2 separate regions of the Homo sapiens genome follow, and region 1 is linked to region 2. Evidence: promoter capture Hi-C in 16 types of primary human blood cells and fetal thymus (Javierre and others, 2016). All regions are on one chromosome and are shown on one strand. Each heading gives the region's core, a stretch centred on a gene start or on the middle of the fragment in contact. The rest is flanking DNA. Distances are from core to core; before and after follow the strand shown. Region 1 overlaps TMED7-TICAM2 (TMED7-TICAM2 readthrough). Region 2 holds the start of CDO1 (cysteine dioxygenase type 1).

The links. Contacts are between HindIII fragments. The CHiCAGO score rates a contact against its expected background, and 5 or more counts as called.
Region 1: a fragment that was not itself captured here is called in contact with the fragment with the promoter of CDO1 in region 2 in 4 of 17 cell types (total CD8 T cells, naive CD8 T cells, non-activated CD4 T cells and 1 more); the score reaches 5.8 in total CD8 T cells.

What each region holds. Positions count from the first base shown.
Region 1 is chr5:115,604,115-115,609,899 of GRCh38, forward strand. All of the region lies in intron 3 of TMED7-TICAM2 (TMED7-TICAM2 readthrough), which reads right to left. The region is part of intron 2 of TICAM2-AS1 (TICAM2 antisense RNA 1); the gene reads left to right. Among named protein-coding and RNA genes, the nearest start is that of TICAM2, 4.5 kb to the left of the region's middle. The HindIII fragment of the contact is 1,583 bases long and covers 1,673-3,255 here.
Region 2 is chr5:115,812,334-115,818,095 of GRCh38, forward strand. CDO1 (cysteine dioxygenase type 1) reads right to left here and starts at 4,326. Exons shown (of 5, transcript NM_001801.3): 1 at 3,895-4,326; 2 at 848-925. The coding sequence starts at 4,064. LOC124901049 (a long non-coding RNA gene) reads left to right here and starts at 4,755. Exons shown (of 2, transcript XR_007058908.1): 1 at 4,755-4,838. The HindIII fragment of the contact is 6,274 bases long and covers 2,303-5,762 here.

The DNA of each region.
Region 1 (5,785 bases), core at 1,214-3,713, 210 kb before region 2:
AAATGTTCAAGAAAATGCATCAATCACTTACGCCACATATGTTTAGAATATATTCTATGTGCTAGACATTAGGGATATTGTGCGAACAGGAGACACAGTCCTAGTTCTCATGGAGATTTTATAGTCTAATCTGGGAGACAGACAGATATGTAAAGAAGTGAGACAATTTCAGATCCGTGCATTGCTAATGGGGACAGCGAATCTTCCTAGTGGGCAATTTCTAGCTACATACCTGGTTATTCACATTCAAGAAAGGAGGGGACGACATGACAAACTGATAAATATACTGACTTACAGGCAGTGTCTAATGGATTGTCCAGCTTTTAGGTTCTTGGAAAGAACAAAATGGAAAATTTGTAAAAGATCTGTCCGTGAGACTTACAGATAACCCTCTTGGAGTGGTGAGGGCATGTGAAGATATTCATATCCCCCATAAGTGCCTAACAGGATGCATCAGGTGGAGAAGATTTTCAATAATAAGCGGAACAAGATGAATTGTCTGGTAGATGTCAGTCTTTTTCTCCAGCCAACCCAGGGCTTGGTTAATGGGCCCATGTACCAAGTGGCTATCAAAGCAGTGACAGAGGTTCAATAGTATGGTCTTCTCCTTACCTACATTATTTGGCTACTATCATTGCCGAATGCCCAACCTGGCAACAACGTGGAGTGTGACTACATTTCCAAGGCTGGGTTCCTAATATGGCATTACTGTCAATGAGACTTGCTGGCAACCCGGTAACATGATGGTTACATTGGGCAATTTCCATAAGAAATAGGTAGCACTTTGTCTTCACAAAGATAATTCACATTCAAGGTATAAATCTGCATTCTCTGCCTGCAGTGTTTCCACTGGCACTAATATTCTTGACATTTCTGAAGGTTTTATCCATTGCATAGGAATCCCAAAAACATTTCTTCCAACCAGGTACACAGTTTATGGCAATGGAAGTGAATTCAATGGTTTTAACACATGCTTATCTCCTAAAGTAACTAGCTTGATAGAACAGCTGAGTGGCAAAATGAGAGCTCGGTTACAGAGATATCTGGGAGGCAACATCATGAAAAGGTAGGGTGGTGTCCTATAGAATGTGGTACATTAATTTAATAAGCAGTCAATATATGGAGCTGTCTCCCCACTATCAGGATGCACAGGTCTCAGAGCCAAAGGGTAGAAGGAGTGTTTCTGTTCAATAGTATACCTAAGAATCTACGTGAATAATTTTTGCTTCCCATTCCCAAAATGTTGGGCTTGGTGGGTTTAGAAATTCTAGAGTCCAAGAGTAGAACACTTCCTTCAGGAAAAATAATCATGTTTTGATGATTTAGGAGCCGAGACTGGCCCTGGCCTTTTGAGGTTCCTCATGCCATTAAAGTAACAGAAAAGCAGCTCAATGGACTGGCCAGGGTAGCTAATTCCAGTTATCAGAGGAAAACTGTGTTTCTGTTTTACAATGGAAACAAGAAGGCTATATAGGCTATATATGGAAACGAGGAAATTCACTGGAATGCCTCTTAGTGCTAACAGTCCTAGTCAGTGGAAAACTGCAGCAACCCAGTAAAGACAGGCCTATCAACGGCTCAATTCTGTAGAAATGAAGGTTTAGGTCACTTCATTAGACAAAGAATCCCATCTAGTCAAAATCCTGGAGGAAGGTAAGAAGAAGGATTACTAAGCTTGATTATGGTACTTTATTCCCCCAGAAATAAAACCAAAAGATGGTTTACTAGGACGTTCAAAATCAATAAACTTCTAGCCAGATAAGTCAAGAAAAAAGAGAGCAGATGCAAATTACCAATATTAGAAATGAGAGAGGGACATGACATTCCAGTTATTAAAAGGTTACTAAGGAAAGATTATGAACAACTTTATGCCAGCAAATTCAACAATTTATATGAAATGGAAAAAATCCTTAAAAGCCAAACAGTCAAGATGAAACAGATTATTTTAAAAGCCCTAAATCTATCAAAGAAATTAAGGTGTAGTGAAAAATGTTCCGAAAAAGAAAACTTCATGTCCAGGTGACTTCAATGGTGAACTCTACCAAAACATTTAAGGAAGAAATGATACCAATCCTACACATACTCTTCAAAAAAATTCAAAAGGAGGGAATACTTCTGAAATCATTCTATTAAGCCAGCATTAGTATCATACTAATCAGACAAAAGACATTACAAAAACAGAAAACTAAAGACCAACATCGCTCATGGATATAGATGTAAGATTCTAAACAAAATTTGAACAAATCAATGATGGTTGAGAATTTTCCAGAACTGATGTATCAACCCACAGATCTAAGATGCCAAACAAAGCCTAAGTGGGAAAATACAATAAAATCCTCACGTATATACAACACAATGAAACTCAAAAAAAAAAAATTATAATTACAAAGAGAAAATCGTGAAAGCAGCCAGAGGAAAAAAAAATGGATTAGTCTAAATGGAGCAAAAGACTGACAGGTGACTTCTTCCCAGTAACAGTGGAAGTCAGAATACAAGGGAAAGTTATCTTTACCTTTCCAGATAACCATCCATTTCAAGGGAGAAAAAAAAAGTCCTTCAAAAAGAAGGCAAAATAACGACATTTCAAAAAACAAGAGCAAAGTAAATGTGCCACCAGGTGACCTGCACTAAAGTAAATTCTAAACATATACTCAGGCAAAAGAAAAATTACTCCAGATGGAAGCTCAAAGACACAGCAAGGAATGGAGAGTAAGAAAGGTGGCAAATTTGTGGGTAAATCTAAGTCAATATTAACTATATAAAACAACAGTAATAACTTACATTTAAAGAGATACAACATATGTGACAACCACATATATAAGCTGGGAGGAAAGTAAATGGGATTAAAGTGTTCTAAGGCTACTGCACTGCGCAGAAGTCTGGGCGAGTTTAGGCGTTGATAAGTCAGAGATGCATAATGAAATTTCTAGAACAACCATGAACAGAAATATATACAACATCCCATCTGATAGGTAGAAGAAAAAAAGGAGTAACAAAAACAAAACTATCAAAAAAAAAGTAGAAAAAAAGGAACATAGAACAGATAGGACACATACTAATAGTAACAACAATATGATATAAACGAGACACCTCTAAAAACTAAATATACACAAAGACTGAAAGTAAAACTGTGGAAAATGATATACGACACAAGTGCTAGCCAAACGAAAGCTGGTATAGCTACATTAATATCAAATAAAATTAATTTTAAGGCAAAATTTATTAGTGGAAATAAAGATAATTTTGTAATGATAAAGCTTCTTTCAATTAACCTGGAAAATATAACAATTATACATTTGTATCCCAATACAAAATAGAAAAAGAGAGAAATTGAAAGAATCACACAAACACATCTAAAATCATGCTAGCTACATTTTAACACAATTCTCTTAGTAATCAAGAGATATATACCAAAAACAAAAAAATCATCACTAAGGATACTGAAGACTTGAAAATTAATGAACATGACTAAAATGATTAATGAACATAAATAACTGTAGAACTCTTTTCAAGCATCCTAAAATTTATAAAAACCAGCCACTTATTATGTCATAAAGCAACTGTTAACACATTTCAAAGAATTTAAATCATATAGAGAATATATCATCTGATCACAATTCAATTATGTTAAAAATCAACAATAAAGGAAAACTTAAATATTCATGTTTGGAAATTATAGTTCCAAATAGTATCTATGGATCAAAGTAGTAATGATAATGAAATAAAAAACTTTGCAGTTAGTGAATAACTAAAATGCTAGATATTGAGACTTGTAGAATGGAGTTAGTAGTAGGCAGAATTCTAAGATGGTTCCTGAAATCCTTTCCAAGCCCCATATCCATACCTTTGTGTGGACAACGCCTGTTACATTTAGTAAGAGAATATGGCAAAAGTGAAAGGATTTTGCAGATGCAATTAAGGTGCCTATTTAGTTGACTCTGACTTAATCAAAAGGGAGACTATCCCAGGTGACTCTGACCTAACCAAGTGAACTCTTTCTGGCCTTCTCTGAAACAGATTCTAGTCAGAAGTTCTGCTGACCTTAAAAAGGCATGTCACGTTACACTGCTTATATAAAAGAGCAGCCCTAAGTAGCTGAGGACCTCAGTTCTACAGCTTCAAGGAACTAAGTTTTATCAACAATCTGATTAATTTAGAAGAGAACTGTGAGCTCCAGATGACAATGCAGTTCAGCTGACTTCACTGCAGCCTTGTGAGACCCTAAACAGAGGACCCAGTTAAGCCATGCTGAAACTCTTAACCCCAAGAAATTGTGAGATAATAAAATTATGCTGTTATAAACCAGTAAACCTGTGGTAATTTGTTACCCAGCATAGAAAACTAACGCAAGAGATAAAGTAGCATTATCATGGAAATCTATAGCTTTAAATATGTAAATCAGAATAGAAAGTTGAAAATTTGAAGAGCTAACCATCCACTACAATAATATGACATATTAACATAGAAAAGAAAAAGCTGAAATCAACAAAATAGAGAAAATATAACAAAGAAGAAAAACAAAAATATTGGCTTCTTTGTAAAGCAAAAACAATAAATATGATAAACCTCTAGCAAGACTAGTCAAGGAAAAAAGATACAAACAATCTCAGATGCAATATAAGCAATACAAAGGGTACCATCCTTACAGATCTGGCACATGTTAAGTGTACAGGAAAAACACAGTGCTAACAAATTTGAAAGTGTAGACGTAATGGAAAGATACATAGGAATATGCAATCTACCAATATTACACAACAGAAAAGCTGAACCTTATTAATAAAAAGAAATTGAATCAGCATCCCATAAAGAAGACACCAGGCCCCAAACACACTTCACCTATGATTTCTAATAAACATTCAAGGAAGAAGTAATGTAAATGTTATATACAAGCTCTCCCAGAAAACAAGAAAAGAAAGCCAGTTTCCAAATCACTTTATAAGGCTAAAACAGCCTTGATATTAAGCAAAAATCTTAAAACAAATCCAGCTATTAAAAGCAGTCAAACCACATCGTGGCCAGGTTTTTTTTACCCTAGGAAGAGAAGGTTGGCTTAATAATAGGAATCCAGTTCATGTAACTGACTACATTCAGAGAATAAAGGCAGAAAAATCATGATTTTTCTCAATAGAGCTTTTTGAAAATTCAAAATTTTATATCATTTATGATTATAAAAAACTCTTAGCAAATAAGAATAGGTGGGAAATTTCTAAATTTAATAAAAGTATCATAAAATGCTTAGAGAATACTTTGAAAGCATTCCCAGAGAACAGGAACAAAACAAGAATGCCTACACATGACCTATTCAACATTATACTGGAGGTCCCTGCAAATTTAATTAGGCAAGAAAAAGAAAAGGACAATAGAAAGACAAATTTGTCATTACTTATAGAAAGTCCAAAAGAATCTACAGATAAATTACTAAACTTTAAAAAAGATTTTTGCAAGGTTGAATAGAAAAATCAATTTAAAAAGTATCCCCACATACGAACAAAAAATTAAAAACTTAAAAGATATCATTTATGATAGCATCAAAAACAAAAAGATATAAGATTAACAAAATATATGTATGCAGTATTTCTATGAAGAAAATTTTAAGACTTTATTCAAAGATACAATGGAAAGACAACATTAACTCACCAAAAAATGCACTACTATAAAGAATTTGTTCACAGATACAATACAATCCCAATCAAAATCCTAACAATTTTGTTTTGTTGAAATTCTAAAATTTGTATAAAAGTGCAAAGAACTGATCACAGCCAAAATCTTGAAGAACAAGGTATAA
Region 2 (5,762 bases), core at 3,076-5,575:
TAATACTTAGTTGATAATAAGACTGTCAAACGTGAAACTAAAGATAAATTAAGGAGCTAAGTTTCAAAGAATCAGTATAAGTTGCCTTTTCAGTAAAGAAACTAAAGAATTAACTTGAAGTAGAAAGAAATTTTCTGAATTTGCAATGCTTTTCTAGCTTCAAATCTCCATCCTTTGGTCTTTGGTCCCACGATTGTTTACACACCTCAAACACCACAAATGTCAAGTGTAAACACAATTTCACATAAAGTTTTACTGCACAGAAAACAGAGTATGGTTAACTTAAGGGGGTTACTTACCTCATTTGATTTACTATTCATTTTGGGGGCTGGTTTTAATATGTGTAGTGTATGCCTGAATGCCCTGTGCTAATTCCATTGATAATTTTTGTTGGGATTAGGGAACATTGTGAACAAGTAAGTAGAAAATGAGGGCTGGGTGTGGTGGCTCATACCTGTAATCCCAGCACTTTGGGATGCCGAGGTGAGTGGATCACCTGAGGTCAGGAGTTCGAGACCAGCCTAACCAACATGGTGAAACCCCATCTCTACTAAAAATACAAAATTAGCCAGGCATGGTGGTGCATACCTGTAATCCCAGCTACTCAGGAGGCTAAGGCAGGAGAATTGCTTGAACCCAGGAGGCAGAAGTTGCAGTGAGCTGAGATCATGCCATTTCACTCCAGCCTGGGCAACAAGAGTGAACCACTGTCTCAAAAAAAAAAAAAAAAAAAAAAAAAAATGAGATTTGTTACTACTTGTAAGACCTGTGGCTAGCCTGGTACTATATTTTTCATATGCTAGAAAACATGCTCTAATAAATATCTGTGAATGAATAGTTATTTTACCTGCCATGTCCTTCACCCCAACAGAGAATCATCAGATTAAATTTTCCATTTCCTTGATCCACAAGATTTCGGGTATACCTAAAAAAAAACAATATATTCAGAAGTTTTAAGTTCGTTGCTGAAACAAGCACTGGAAAAAATAAGTGTGTCACCAAGTACCATTTATTCACAAATGTTAACATTTCCACCTCTAAGCAACTTTGAATGCAGTTTTCTAATTAGAAATCCAACACAAATGAAAAATCCTTTTTCACAGTTCATTTTGAACCGCTGCATTTACAGAGGTAGCTGCTCAGTTTTAATTAATGGCACGGGAAAAATAACAGGAAAAAAACCGAAATTGCATGTTTCTCAATGTGACAGCCTCAAACTGATGGAGTAAGTTTCTCAGAGAAAGTATTTCCAAAGTGCATTACTGGTTGAGGCAAGAATGTTGCTATTGTTTTTTTTTTTTTCTTTTTTCTGCCTGTAGCTAAATCAAGACTTGAGAAACAAGGTTTCATTAAATAGCTGTTCTAGAATTCTTAGTTTTACTAAAGCCTAGACACAAACCACATTCAAAAGCCCTTATAATGAAAAGTCTTCCACAAATACCGTGGGGGCTGATCTAACTACCAGAACAAAGAAGACTACATTAGTGAAGTAAAGAACCCTCTAAACCTCTTACAATTAGGAGAAACCAGTAACTGGCAAACACATACACACAGACACACTCACCACAACCAACCACCACCACTGCCACCACCAACAACAAACTGCAAACCACGACCACGACTGTGAAAAAAGCAAAATCAACGTCAAAGTTTCTATTGGTCCAAGGTGTACTGTTGACAGCATCTAGTTAGCAAAGTTTCATAATTATGACATTCATTTAGACTGTCATGTTAAAGAAAAGGGGTCTTTACTCCATTTTTTGGGAGTTTTTTTTCCCTTCGTCATCGGTTAACTCTTGTCCAGCATGCCCCTTCCATCCTGTCCCATTCCTCCCCACCCCGAGGTGTCCGAAGAGCATGATCCTAGAGGGAGTTACTTAGTAAGTGCTTTTTAGCCTCAGTTTTCCCTACTTTGTAGCCTTTATGACCTAACAAGAAGCTGTGTACACAACCTTCAATTCACAGTAAACTGAGTTCCTGCAGAAGGATCCTAATTCTTCCTCCAGAAGTCTTAGGATAATCTTTGTTGCTTCTCTGCAGCTTCTTTCAAAGAATTCACAGCCTGGCCCACACGGGAGCATATTCTGTCTTGATTCTTCTGCACTGGCCCTCCCAAAGTCAGAGAACAGAATCCTTCACAGCGCTAGGCACCTATTTAATGCAAAAAATACTGTAGAATTGACTTCTCTCCCATCTCCTGTCTTCCCCCAACTGCCCCCTCGGGACTACATCCATTATGTTAATGAGCTGTACCTCAGATATCTGTGAAAAGACCGATCAACCCAGCTGGTTGCACTTCAAAAGCTTTAGAGTTTGTCAATCGAGACTAGTTCAAGGTCCTTGAAAATACACTTGTTCTAAAGATTAAAGATTAAAAACTGTTACAACCTGTCCTGGTTTAACAGTGGTTTAGAGTGTAGGCTCTGGAACAACAATGCTAACCCCGGGAGCCTGGAGCCGCTATCGATAGAAGACCTAGTGCAAGTCATTCAACTTCTTCATTGCCTGCCATTCCTCATATGTGTCAAGTGTCTGGAAGAGTACCTGTCCCATAACAAGTCTTCAATTACCTGGAGCAAATGCAAGAAAATTTAAAAGCTAGACTCTCTGCTAGCTTTCACGGCTACAGAAGGGCTCTACCATGAACTAAGCTGATAGGAGCCAAAGGAATTTCCTCAAGTCACTTGTATATGAAAAATGGGATCCTTAGTGGTCTTCACTTTTTCTATTTCAAATCCTAAAATACAGTTGAAACCGCCCATGCCAACAAAACTTTACGAAACATCCCACATGTTGAAGAGTGACTAAAAGAACCTGCTCCCAAGAAAAACAAACTTACTTCTTTCCTTATTCTTTTCTTTCACTTACCCCTTTCTCCTAACCCTAAACCCAAAAAACCACAAAGACTGACGCACTAACTGCTCAGAAAAAGTAGAACCTCTCACACTTCGGGGTGATTAAATTTTACCTCTGGCCCCGGAGGATTGGTAGAGAGATTCGACTTAATCACCAAGCCGGGGCTGCAAAAAAGCCAGCTTACCAGGGCACCTCACTCAAGTACATCTGGGAAGTAGGGGTCTTTAATTTACATTACAGATCGTCAGAAGCAAGGATAAGATAAATCAGATCATTTGGGGGCTGAAAAAAACGACGGTCGAATATTTAATCTGCGAAACTTGGCAGTGGATTTGAATAAACCCACAGTCGGGGAAGTTAGTTAAATTGGTTTGGGAAAGGGAACAGCAGAAATTCCGTAGTGGCAGCTGACGGCCACAAGACGCTATTTTACATGAGTAAAAATGCTTGCTATAAGGTGCCCGGTTGCAGGCGACCGAAGGCGCAGTGATGGAGAACTGACGCGGGTGACTTGTCTTCTTCAACATCACACACTTCTCCCGATGGCTGATGTAGTGCTCCCCTGGGAGCACCCTCTGCTAGTCCGGCCAGACGGTTCCTTAAGGTGTCAGGAGGGCCCGAACCTGAGTGCGGTCTCTCCGCATCTCCGCGCCCGGGGTTAACGATGGCTTGGGAGTGTGGGCATTGCTCCCGAGGCCAGGGGCAGGAGGACTGGTGGTTTAGAAGCAGAGGGGTTTGCGGGAGAGAAGAGAACAGAAAATCTCGCAGACGCGCGGTGGCCTCCCTTCCCGGCGCCTGTCCGCCGTTCCCGGCCGGAGGTCAGCAAGGCCAGTAGGATCCACCTTCCGCCTGCGCTGTGGCCGCGGAGCCCCAAGCGAGTCGTGCCAGCCCCGCGGCTGGCCAGCGAGGGGGCGAGCGGCGGACGCAGCGCGGCCCGAGCTTCCCGAGCCAGTCACTTTGGGCTGCGTCCCCCACGTCCATTCCTCCTCAGACGGGGCGAGTGGGCGCCGCCTGGCATTGAAGCTGCAGCGCGCTCACCTGTACTGGTCGAACTTGGCGTACATTGCCCACTCGGTGGGGTCGCTCTCGTAGGCTTCCATGATGGCCTGCACCTCCTCTACATTGACCTCATCGCCGGCAAAGAGCTGGTGCAGGATGCGGATCAGATCAGCCAGGGTCCGTGGCTTCAGCACTTCGGTCTGTTCCATCTCGTGGGGAGCTGGCTGCGCGCGCGTCTCACTGCTGGGCTGCGGTGGAGGAGCTGAGCGAGCCAAGGAGCTGGGGGCGAGGGAGCCTAACAGCCCGCTAGACCGCTAAGCAGACACACACGCACAAACCCAGCATTAGAGTGCCGAAACGTAAGGATGTCGTCGCAGAGACAGCAAGAGACCCACCCCCAGGCCCCTGGCAGCGCAGTGGATCCGGGATCGCTGGAGACGCGGTGCACACACAAATCAGGTTCAGATCTGTGGGGTTCATCCTCCCGGGCCCCTTTTAAGCGCTTGGAGTCACTAGGAATGTACCAACGGCCCTCGGAGGGAGGACGAGGCGGAGAGCCACCCAAGAAAGGTGGCGGAGGCGGGGAGACCCTGCGGGCACGGCTCACGCGCACATCCCCGGCTTCCCCGGGCTCCGCGCCTTCCCAAGAGCCCCGTTGTCTCCGGCGTCCCAGGGATCGCGTGGGCTCCGCGCAATCTCTCCCCCACTTTAACGGCGCGTTTTAGCCGCCCGGCCTAACGCCTCTCCCCGCTCCACCTCCGCCGCTGTGGTTCGCGACGCTGGGACGTAGACAAAAAGGGTCGGAGGAGATGGCTGCGGGGACTGACGCTGAGTAAAGGAGGAAAAGAAAAGGGAAGGAGAGGGACACTTCTTCCAAATAGAGAATTGTGAGGAGCCTGCGAAAATTGAGGATGGATTCCACTCCTAGGCCAGAGAGTGCCTGTTTTGTCGATTGAAACTATCCACGATATGCCCCAGGCTAGGTGAAAATAAGTCCAAGACTTTATATATATATATATTTAAGTATACACACACACATATTTTTTAAAATGCGTACTGAAATATATTTTGACAAAGGAGACTCGGGTCTCTAGTAAGACAATTAGTGAAATGATGGAAAACCAAGAACTCTTTGATTTTAAAATCAAATATTTTCTTTTAAAAAATATCCAGTGCAAATAACCTGATATTTCATTTGATGGTGTAAAAGGGGGCTTTTTCTGAGGGGATAGGGCGGGCTCTGACGCAATAATTTAAGAGGCTATAATTATATTTGAATCTTTCAACCTTAGGCATGTGCTTGAAGGAGCCTGCTAGTACATACATATAAGGAAACACGTTTCTACGTCATGCATAGCACCTAGTACGTTGGGAACAACACAAATCAAGTACAGTAGGATTTAAATGAGAAAGATGTGAAAGGTGGAAGAAATGCAAGTGTAGATTTCTTCCTTCTCATTATGGATGGACGCAGGGAATAATTTGGATTTAAGGTTATTAAAGTTCTAGACTTCTGAAGACCTGTTTTTTTCTAGACTATGATCACCCTCCCTCGTGTATATACATGTATACAATGAAATTTACTTGTGCCAGGTAGTCTTAAACATCTCTGGTAAAACTCGCTACATTATATTCTAACAGTGTTGTTAAAAGCGGAATCACCTATTGTTCAAAAATGGCTACAAGTAGAAAGCATTCCAGAAGCCAGCCTTGGTGATGTGTGTTGCTGCGGGGTAGTGAATTAACAAAGTATTTTGTGACAGAGTAACCTGTAAACTTTTCATGGTTTCCTCAAATTATTTTTTATTCTTGGCAATGTTTTCTATTGAGTCTCTTAATTACTTCATTTCAGCTAGTCTAATCCATAAATGTTTGGAATGAACAACAAAAATGAAATGCAAGCACAA